2 separate regions of the Homo sapiens genome follow, and region 1 is linked to region 2. Evidence: promoter capture Hi-C in 16 types of primary human blood cells and fetal thymus (Javierre and others, 2016). All regions are on one chromosome and are shown on one strand. The core of a region is centred on a gene start or on the middle of the fragment in contact, and the rest is flanking DNA. Distances in the headings are between cores, read along the strand shown. Region 1 overlaps DYSF (dysferlin). Region 2 holds the start of SPR (sepiapterin reductase).

Region 1 (4,767 bases), core at 2,213-4,712, 1.4 Mb before region 2:
TTTGCAACAGTGAGATTATTCTATATATATTATATTGTGACTTGAATTTCATGGCCTAAGAATGTATCATGCTCATCTCCACATGTCAGTAAGTAAAGTTATAAGTTGGAGGTGGTAAGAATGAGAAAAATGTTGAGAGCAGGAGAGGTATCTGCATCTTTCTATGTTTGAGAAGAGGAGAAAAGGTTTGGAATCATCTTTGTGGGAGAGGAGTGAGGGGTTAGATTTAATGAAAGGATTTCTGTACAAACACCAGAGCACCCACTCTGGGTTGGACGCTTTGTTTGTAGTGGAGCCACTTGCCTCATGGTGCTCAGCAGCGCAGAAGCAGAAGAGAGGCAGGTGGGTGGTGGACGTGTTGGGTGAGGGCAAGCCAGGAGTGCTGAAGGTCAGGGGTGAGGTGAAGGTCAGGGGTGAGGTACCTGAATATGGCTGATGGCTTTGTGCAGGGAGGGAGAGGAGGACAGGGCCCCTGGGGTCTCCTGCCATGCCTCGTGTCTCCCCCATCCTCACCACACACTGGCTCCTTGGCCACCTGGACGTGCTGCTTGGATGAATGTGGGTTTCTACTTCTCCACTTAGCTGGGCCCCGGGTGCTGTCCGCCTCTTCCTTTACCTGGGTATAGTTTACTCCTTATCTAATTCTCCTCATCTCCTTACTCCTTATCTCTCCTGGCTGTTCCCAGACTTTCTTCCCTTTCCTAAGCTCCAACCTCAGCTTCCCTTGGAGAGGCAGAGCTGCACAGCGATGAGTGGTGAGAGCTCTGGGAGCTCCTGTGGTCCTCAACTTGCCCCCCATCTTCATCCACCTTCCCTCCCTTCCTCCGCCCCTCCCGCTGCATTATCCCACCACCTCCTTGGCCATGACTTCACATCCTCCACTGTCTTCTTTAGCCTCCTCTTTCTGGTCTCTTCTCACACTTGTCTCCTCTGCCTCCTTCTCCATGATCTGTACCAGGCTCAAGATTTCCCCATCCTAAAACACCCCTTCCTTGACCCATTTCTCCCCACCCCTCCTCTCCACTACTATTTTCTCTCTCTCCTACTGCTGGTCATCACCAACTTTTGAAAGGGTGCACTGCATCCCCCTTTTTCCACTCCATTGCCAGCTGCTCATTCCTTCTCCTCTTCAGTAGGAATCCCACCACCTCCCCTCCCTGAAGCCACTGGTGTAAGGGTCACTCATTACCATAGCTTAGGAGCTCTCCTCTGTTGTTAGACTGCACCACTGCTCCATAGCGTTCGATTCTGGAGCCCACGCCTTATTTGAAACTGTCTCCTCCCTTAGTATTCATGACTCTCCTTGCTCCTTTTCCAGTGGGTTCTTCAAATTCGATGTTGCAGTTCAGTCCCTGTTCCCTTGCTGTGTCCTGCCCGTCACTGTTGAGGAGTCCGTCTCTTTCAGACACCACCTGAGACTTGTAAATTGCTCTTCTCCAGCCTGGATCTTCTGAGCTCTGGACGCTCAGTTTCAGTTGCCTTGTCATCAGGCCACATTAACATGTCCCTTAGGCCCCTCTAACTTATTATAGTAAATCTAACTTATTATAGCAAAGCCTGTATCATTTGCTGCCCACTCCCCACACCTGTTCCCCATCCCGTATTAGGTGACATCTTAGGAAATTGCATGATTATCCACTTAGTCCCCCAAACCAGAGGCCAGAGTTTCATTCTTTACCCCTCAATCCCCATGCAAGCAGTTGGCCAGTCTTGTTGGTGGAAAACCTCAGTGTACGCCTCTTCTTTTTCCCATCCCAAGACAGGAGTTTGAGGTCCAGCTCCCACTCTCTCTCACTTGGGTCTCTTTGTGAATTACAATATAGGTTCAGCTGGTGTAACAAAGATGCCCCAAATAATAGGCATTAAGGAGGACAGAGGTTTATTTCTCTCTCATGAATGCCACAGTCCAGAATTGGCACAGTGCTTCGGCAATGATCAGAGACCCAGGCTCCTGGTCTTTTCTCCACTGTGATCATCATGCAGCCTCCGTCACATGGCCCAAGATGGTTGCTCCAGTTCCCATCACCATGTCTGTATTCCAGCCAGGGAAATGGGAGTAAAGGACAATGGAGGCCACATCTCTTCCTTCAAAGGCATGATCCAGAAGTTGTACACATTTATGCTTAGGTCCCATTGACAAGAACTTAGTCACATGGCCACATCTAACTACGAGGGAGCCTGGGAAATAAAGTCCATCCTAATGCTGTCCAGCTAAAAATTGAGGGTTTGTTAGGGGAGGCAGAAAAGACTGGATTTGGGGGAACAACTAGCAGTCTCTGCCATCCATCCTAAGTGTCCTCTGAGGTCTCCTAACTTCTTACGTTATACTTCACCTATCCCCACCTTATCACCAGTCATCTTTTTTTTTTTTTTTTTTTTTGAGAAAGAATCTTGCTCTGTCACCCAGGCTGGAGTGCCATGGTGCAATCTCGGCTCACTGCAACCTCCGCCTCCCGAGTTCAAGTGATTCTCCTGCCTCAGCCTCCTGAGTAGCTGGGATTACAAGCGTGCGCCACCATATCCAGCTAATTTTTGTATTTTTAGTAGAGACGGGGTTTCACCATGTTGGTCAGGCTGGTCTCAAACTCCTGACCTTGTGATCCACTCGCCTCGGCCTCCCAAAGTGCTGAAATTACAGGCGTGAGCCACTGCGCCTGGCCGCCAGTCATCACTTTTAAACCCAGGTAGAATCACGCGTGTCTCCTCTTACAAAACCTCCAGTGACTTCCCACTGCTTTTAGGATAGAGTCCAAGATCCTTAGCATGACATTCAAGGCCCTTGACATTTGCCCTCAGCCTAGTTTCCCAATCCCACTTGCTGTTATGTATCTTCATGGGCCCCGTCTGTGGCCACACCAGATGATGTGACTCTTTCCAGAATGCTCTTCCATCCCTCTCTAGCCTTTTCCCCTGCTGGAATGCCTTCCCTCTCTTTGCCTACCAAGAGCCAATTTGTTCTTCCAGACCCAGTTCAGATGCTACTTCCTCCCTGAAGCTTGCCTCGTCTTCCAGGAAAATGTATTGGTCTTTCCTTTGGGCCACCACCCAGCCCTTTGGTAGTCTAATCAGTTTATGTGTCTGTCTTCATCACTGAGATTCAGTTTCTTGATGATGGGGACAATATAGCAAATGTGATATCTTTTATCTCCCCTCTTGCCTAGTACGGCAGGTCTTGTACACAGTAGGTGCTCAGTCAGTGCTTATTGTCTAGGGGAATAGACATTTTTATGGATGCCTGAAAGATGATTGTTTTCTTCTGATATGAGCTGAGGAGAATAAACGCAGAACACATCCCTTTGGGCATGCTGTGATATGGGCATTCTGGGATTGAGGGTTTTGCAGCAAGGATCCTGAAGCAGGTTTCTACGTGTCAAGTGTGACTGAGTGAGAAATGGGGTGAGGCTAGTCCAGGCAACTGTCCAAGGAGTTGGCTGCTGGGCACAGCCTGACCTTGCTATTCTCCTGTCCCTTCGCTGCTCGCTAGCCCAAGAGCAGCCACCAGATCTTTTGTCTGTTCCTCCAGCTGCCGACTTCCCCATGTGCAAGGGCCTCTGCATGAGTTGCCTCCTCGTCTGGATGCCTCCACCTGTTGCTCATCATCCAGGTCTCAAGCTGGGAAGCATTTCTGACCCCACCTCAGTATAGTTACAAGCCCCCTTGCTCTGTGCTCTCCAAGCACGTGGGTTCTGCTTCCAGCCTGTGTTACACCTCAGCTTTCTTATCTGTAAAGTGGGGGCATTCTAGGTCTTACACCCAGAGCAACATCTGTGGGCAAGCAGCGTGGGCATCACTTGGACACTTTTTGAAATGCAGAATCTTGGGCCCCACCCCACACCTGCTGAACTAGAACCTGCATTTTAATTGGAATGCACAGCAGTGGTCTAGAAGACATTGATTCTCAGCCTCTGTTGCTAGTTGGAATCATCTGGGAAGCTTTACAAGCCACTGCTGCATGGGTACTCTCTCCCAGAAATTCTGTTTTAATTGGTCTAGGGTGTGACCTGGGTTTCCCAGGTGAGTCTTTTCTTTTCCTTTTTTGTTTTTGAGATGGTGGGGGCGGGGGGCGGTCTCACTTTGTTGCCCAGGCTGGAGTGCAGTGGTGCAATCTTGGCTCACTGCAACCTCTGCTTCCCAGGTTCAAGCAATTCTCCCATCTCAGCCTCTGAGTAGCTGGGACTACAGGTGCATGCCACCATGCCTGGCTAATTTTTGTATTATTTGGTAGAGACAGGGTTTCCCCATGTTAGCGAGCTGGTCTTGAACTCCTGACCTCAGGTGATCCGCCTGCCTCGGCCTCCCAGAGTGCTAGGATTACAGGTGCGAGCCACGGCGCCCAGGCTTCCCCAGGTGTTTCTAATGTGCCGCCAAGTTTGAGACCCATTCAAGGGAGGGGTGCTATGAGGATTAAATGAGAGAGTGCATACACATCAATGCATGTGGGATGTGATTTTTGTTATTACTGTTCCAACCACAAGACACAGTACATGTTATTGGATTCGTTTGCTGAAAGTGTTTTCCCTGCATGATAGTCAGCTCCATGGGAACAGGGTGCTTATTCATGTCATCCCCTTATTCATTGCCATATCCCCTGCCCTTCAGCACCATACAGACACCTAGTACTCACTCAGTAGCTAATGGCTGGGTGAATGAACACCTGCATGTTATTAAAGACAGAGTGGCCAGCTTAGACCTCAGTTACTACTGTACTATGTTTTAACCGGGAGGTGGGGGAGAGCGGGAAGGAGACTGAGGTTGGTGGAATGCTTG
Region 2 (5,877 bases), core at 240-2,739:
AATCTGGCAAATGGTAGAAATTTAACAAATGTCAAATGAATGGATGGATGGGATCGTGCTTTCATCAACCTGTCTTCTAAGGCCTGGAGAGCAGGGAGAAGCTATTAAAATTCTTTAAATAGTAAGCTGTTGGGCCAATGAGATCTTTATCTTCAGTGTGAATAGGTAAGTGAAAAGCAGGGCAACTTCAAATGGTATACACATATACAGAGTCTTATCAGCGTTAAAATACCAAAAGCTTAAAAAACAATTAGCCAGGCGTGGTGGTGCGCACCTGTAATCCTAGCTACTCAGGAGCCTGAGGTGGAAGGATTGCTTGAGCCCAAGAATTCAAGGCTGCAGTAAACTGTGATCACACCTCTGCACTTCAGTTTGGGCCACAGAGCGAGACTCTGTCAAAAAAAAGAAAAAAGAAAAGAAAAAAGCCTTCCTCCAAGTTGTTTCTTCCTTAGAGTTGGCAATAATAGTGGAAAGGCGGTAACTTTGCTGTTTAGCCCCAGGGGAGGGATCAGCCCTGTGGGGAATTGGGCTAAGTTATCAGAGGTTACTTACTGCCCTTGCTAAACTCTAAAGAGATTCGTTTTTTAAAAACTGACACACAATATTTGGACATATGTATATACACAATGGAATACCACTCGGCCACTAAGAAGGAAACCATGAAGAGATTCCTTTTTAATATATGTAGCTGCATGCCAACTTGTCTCACGTTCCTCCTCTCCTAGAAAAAAAAAAATGTGGATTTTTCTGAAGCACCTGCCTGGAGGTACAGACAGATGATTGCGCAAACTTGAAGCTGAAAGTGGATGGAATTGCTGCCAGGGAGACTGTAGCATGAGCAGGAGCAGAATCCTGGGGAACACACTTTTAGGGACAGGAGTCAGAAATCTCAGAGAAGCAGGGGTTACTGGTGGGATCACGGAGCTGCTCAGGGCCTAGTAAAAGGGAAAGGTTTTAATATCATTTGGAGCCACTGTGGTTCTCCCAGAGGAAGCTCCTGTCATCCAGAGAGCGGTGAGCTCCCAAACAAGCAGAGACTTCAATTCCTAAACAGGCATAAGCTTCATTCAGGGTGTTCACTGGCCACGACCAGGGACGCCCAGCACCCAGTGCAGGGCCTGCCCTGGAAGAGGTCAGTAGTGCAAAGTTAGGGCTGGAACTGGGAGGAAATTCGAGCATGCGTCCCAGCCGGAGGCTGAGCTTGCGGGCGAAGAACACGGCAGCGCTGGGAACCGGGCTAGGGCTTTCCGTGTGGGCCGCGCCTGCCGGCCCTCTCTGTTGTCCCACTTGGCACGGACTGGGCTACCGCCACGGTTTGACTTCCGCCACCAGCAACCAAGGGAACCAGATCCCAAGGGAACCAGCACCCCTGGGCGCTCGCGGCCCGAAGCCTGAGGTTCCCGCCCCGCCCCGGCAGGGCGGCCCCGCCGACACCCGTAGCGGTCCCGCCCCCCGCGGCCGCACCGCCTCCTGCCTGGTCTCGGGTGCCAGCGCCGCCGGCGGAGAACAGGAGCATGGAGGGCGGGCTGGGGCGTGCTGTGTGCTTGCTGACCGGGGCCTCCCGCGGCTTCGGCCGGACGCTGGCCCCGCTCCTGGCCTCGCTGCTGTCGCCCGGCTCCGTGCTTGTCCTTAGCGCCCGCAACGACGAGGCACTGCGCCAGCTGGAGGCCGAGCTGGGCGCCGAGCGGTCTGGCCTGCGCGTGGTGCGGGTGCCCGCCGACCTGGGCGCCGAGGCCGGCTTGCAGCAGCTGCTCGGCGCCCTGCGCGAGCTCCCCCGGCCCAAGGGGCTGCAGCGACTGCTGCTTATCAACAACGCGGGTAAGACCCCGGGGCTGGAGCGGACTCCCCATGTGAGCGCCCACTTCCTCCACCGCTGGGGAATTTAAGGGCTACTCCTAGGGGTCAGATAGGACGCCTAGAAATCTAAAGCCCTAGTTGTTCCAGCTTGAGTAGCAAGTGGAGGCGAGGTGTACAGGAAGACTCGGTGCCGTCGGGACAACAGTCTGCCCCCACTTCCTGGAAAATTGGCCAGCCGGGTTTTCCAAAGCGCCTGTAGAACTTTCCCGAGCCCCTTGCTCTGCGCCCTCTGGCGGAGGCCTGAGTCAGGGCTTGGAGTCTCCAAACAAGTAAACTCTCTGCTTCTCCAAAGGACCGCTAGAGCTTTCCTTCAGCCCCACGGCAAGGCAGGTGCCTTCTCATTCTGCAGCTTGGGATGGCTAGGTTCCCCAGCTGTGTCTTTCCGCAGAGCTGGGGAAGAGAGAAGCCTCTTCAGAAGCGCTAGGCAGCTTCCTCCTCTAGGTCTGCATGGGAAGAGGATATCTGGAGGAACTTGGGAGGGCTGGGGAAGAAGAAAGCCCCGCCTGCACTGAGTTACTCCTAAGGGTTGGTTTTTCAGGCTCTCTTGGGGATGTGTCCAAAGGCTTCGTGGACCTGAGTGACTCCACTCAAGTGAACAACTACTGGGCACTGAACTTGACCTCCATGCTCTGCCTGACTTCCAGCGTCCTGAAGGCCTTCCCGGACAGTCCTGGCCTCAACAGAACCGTGGTTAACATCTCGTCCCTCTGTGCCCTGCAACCTTTCAAAGGCTGGGCGCTGTACTGTGCAGGAAAGGCTGCTCGTGATATGCTGTTCCAGGTCCTGGCGCTGGAGGAACCTAATGTGAGGGTGCTGAACTATGCCCCAGGTAGGTGGGAAGTCCTGCCGTCCCTGTCCTCCAGAACCCACTGGTGCGCCTCTGGGGGCTGGGCAAGCGGCCTAGTCCGCCCCCTCCAGGAAACAACCCACAGGATTTTGTCCTTGAATCTTGACCCATCACCCCTTAGGGGAAATACAGACCCAGGGGAAATAGAGGTGGCAGGGGCCGGGGATACTGGTAGAGAGTGAGGAGTTTCCTGGACTGGAGGGTGGGGCAGGAAGGTCTGAGGTATTAGATGGAGTTTGGGAGAAGACTGGGGTTTGAGTTCCAGGCCTTCCTCATGTGAAATGGGGAAGACGCTCCCTGCCTCACAGGGCACTTGGGAAGACTGAATGAGATACTGTATGTGAAAATGACCCTGACCTGTGAAGTGTTGCCTCATTGTTAAATAGGACTGACCACACTGTATTGTCTGCATATGTTTGCTTGCCTCCTTCCCTCCCTTGACAGGAAAGCCTTTGCACTATGCAGATGTGTGTTCCTAACACCTAGCAAAGCACTACACTAAGGCAAGCTGCAGGACATGCTAGCTGTATGGAGAGCAGACAGACTTTGTTGAGTGCTGACCATCCCTGGCTGAACTGTGCTGGAACACTATTGAGGATTCTGGGATAAATAGAATAGATCCCTTGCTCTCATGAACGCCAAAGGACAGGGAGTCTTGTGATACTGGGTCTAGTTTCTGATGCCACAGCGCCCCTGTCTTAATAGTGAGGAGTCTCTTTTAGGCTTGAGGTTGCTGCAATCAGAAGGTGGTGACAGAGCAGCCATGGAAAGCCTGAGCAACTTGGGCAGAAATCCAGTAGCCTGTGTCCCTGGGGAATAGGGTCAGGCTCCCAGGGCAGACAGGTAGAATGGCCTGCACAAAGCACAGATGTGGCAGGGCTGGATCCCACCTTGCTTTCAAGTTCTTCCTCATGTTCTCCAGTACCCCAGCCCCTACCACCCCTGCCCCCCAACACACATGCACAATTATTCTCACAACCAACATTCAACTCATCATCCACTCTGAATTCAGCCCAAGGATTCGCACAAACAACAGTGACCAAATGTAAGCTACAACCAGGAGCAGAGCAGACTCCAGAAGTCCACATGGCTGCGTTTGGTCTCAGGAGGCTGCCCTGGGCATTATGAGGGAGCTGAGATTTTCAGGAGGTCCCCAGGGCCTGAACCAAGGCAGAGGCCAGTCTGGTTTTCATTTCGGTCTCAGGAAGAATGTTCTAACAGGTGCTCAGAGATGGAATGGGCTGTTTGGAAAGGCAGCAAGTCCTCTCTCAGCAGGGATGCACAGGTCATTGGAAAATAGTCAAGGACCAGGAGATAAATTCTCCCTCCAACCCTGGAATTCTCTGATGTTCTGCCCTCGAGGACCATTAACTGCAAATATTGGGGTGCATGAGTGATTCCTATGTGAAGAATAGAACGTGCTTGCAACAGTTCAAGAAGGGAACAATTCCTTTAGGTGGGGAGACTAGAGATGGCTTTATTGGAGGTAGCTGAACTGGACATTGACCTTGGTTGTTGGCAGATGGAAGGCATTCCTGATGAAAGGAAATAAAGGTGCGAAGGCTCACTGTGGGCGTGGCAGGTCTTCAGTTTGCCTGTAGAGTAGGTGTGCCCAGAGGAGGGCAGACTAGGATGCCTTGAGTATTAGGCCAGGCTACTGGGAAGCTGTTGAGGGGTTTTGAGCGGAGGAATGTTGTGATCCCAGTGATGTTTTTGTTTGTTTATTTGTTTGTTTGTTGAGATGGAGTCTCACTCTGTTGCCTAGGCTGGAGTGCAGTGGCACGATCTCGGCCACTGCAAGCTCCACCTCCCAGGTTCACGCCATTCTCCTGCCTCAGCCTCCCGAGTAGCTGGGACTACAAGCGCCCGCCACCACACCCGGCTAATTTTTTGTATTTTTAGAAGAGATGGGATTTCACCATGTTAGCCAGGATGGTCTCAATCTCCTGACCTCATGATCTGCCCGCCTCGGCCTCCCAAAGTGCTGGGATTACAGGCGTGAGCCACTGCACTTGGCCTAGGCTCAGGCAATTCTAGTGCCTCAGCCTCCACAGTAGCTGGGACTACAGGCATGTGCCACCACACCTGGCTAATTTTTGTATTTTTAGTAGAGACAGGGTTTCACCATGTTGGCCAGGCTGGTCTCAAACTCCTGACCTCAAGTGATCCTCCTGCCTCAGCTTCCCAAAGTGCTGGGGTTGCAGGTGTGAGCCACTGCAGCTGGGCCCCAGTGATGTTTTAGTAGAATGAGTTTAGTAGAGGGCTACAGAAGGAGCTGAGGCAGGGAGAGAAGCAAGGTTGTAAAAAGGGCCTGATTGTCGGGATGTGTAGATGCTGAAGGGTCCTACCTGGTGCCTGGTTGGCTCTGGGGACGATGGGGGAGGGAAGGAGGAAGTGATGGACGTTTTGAGTCTGGGAAAAGAATACTTCATTAATAGAAATGGGAATGTCAGGAGGTGGTGCTGGTTGGACAGGAGATGAGAATCTTGGTTTTAGACATGGTAGTCTAGAGGGTCCATGTTCAGTGGGCTTTTGAATTTCAGTCCAGAACTTGATGGTGACAAATTGGAGCCTTTGGCAACCCTGACCACACATTTCAGCCAAGATGACGTGTTTCCTCTGGCCAGACCTGACTCAGCCCCACCCCCGACATAAAACAGGGACCTGAAACCTTCTGTCCCTGCCTTGGCCATGTTCCCTCATCGTCTCCTTTTCATCCTCTAGGTCCTCTGGACACAGACATGCAGCAGTTGGCCCGGGAGACCTCCGTGGACCCAGACATGCGAAAAGGGCTGCAGGAGCTGAAGGCAAAGGGGAAGCTGGTGGATTGCAAGGTGTCAGCCCAGAAACTGCTGAGCTTACTGGAAAAGGACGAGTTCAAGTCTGGAGCCCACGTGGACTTCTATGACAAATAAGCCCATGTTTTTGGCTTCCTGAACCTTTTTGCCCCCACTTTTAGACATACCCCAGAGCCCTGTGGCTCCCCACACCCTGCCATAGGGGCAGTCCTGCCTTACACATAGAAGCATTCATGCCTGCTGCCCTGCCCTCAGGCACAGCCAGCTGTGAGCTCCCAGGTCATTGGCCTTACCAGTTGTCAGGAGTCTGTGCTGTGCACCCTGGGTTATAAGGAGGCTTAGGAGAGAGGTTATGGGTATTGGTGTCTCTATCCC

What was found. Contacts are between HindIII fragments. The CHiCAGO score rates a contact against its expected background, and 5 or more counts as called.
Region 1: a fragment that was not itself captured here is called in contact with the fragment with the promoter of SPR in region 2 in 1 of 17 cell types (M1 macrophages); the score reaches 5.8 in M1 macrophages.

What each region holds. Positions count from the first base shown.
Region 1 is chr2:71,521,185-71,525,951 of GRCh38, forward strand. All of the region lies in intron 12 of DYSF (dysferlin), which reads left to right. Among named protein-coding and RNA genes, the nearest start is that of DYSF, 57 kb to the left of the region's middle. The HindIII fragment of the contact is 938 bases long and covers 2,994-3,931 here.
Region 2 is chr2:72,885,919-72,891,795 of GRCh38, forward strand. It overlaps SPR (sepiapterin reductase), which reads left to right and starts at 1,490. Exons shown (of 3, transcript NM_003124.5): 1 at 1,490-1,818; 2 at 2,396-2,686; 3 at 5,429-5,877. The coding sequence starts at 1,515. The coding sequence ends at 5,619. RefSeq lists silencers at 1,342-1,731, 2,370-2,544. The HindIII fragment of the contact is 9,789 bases long and covers 1,060-5,877 here.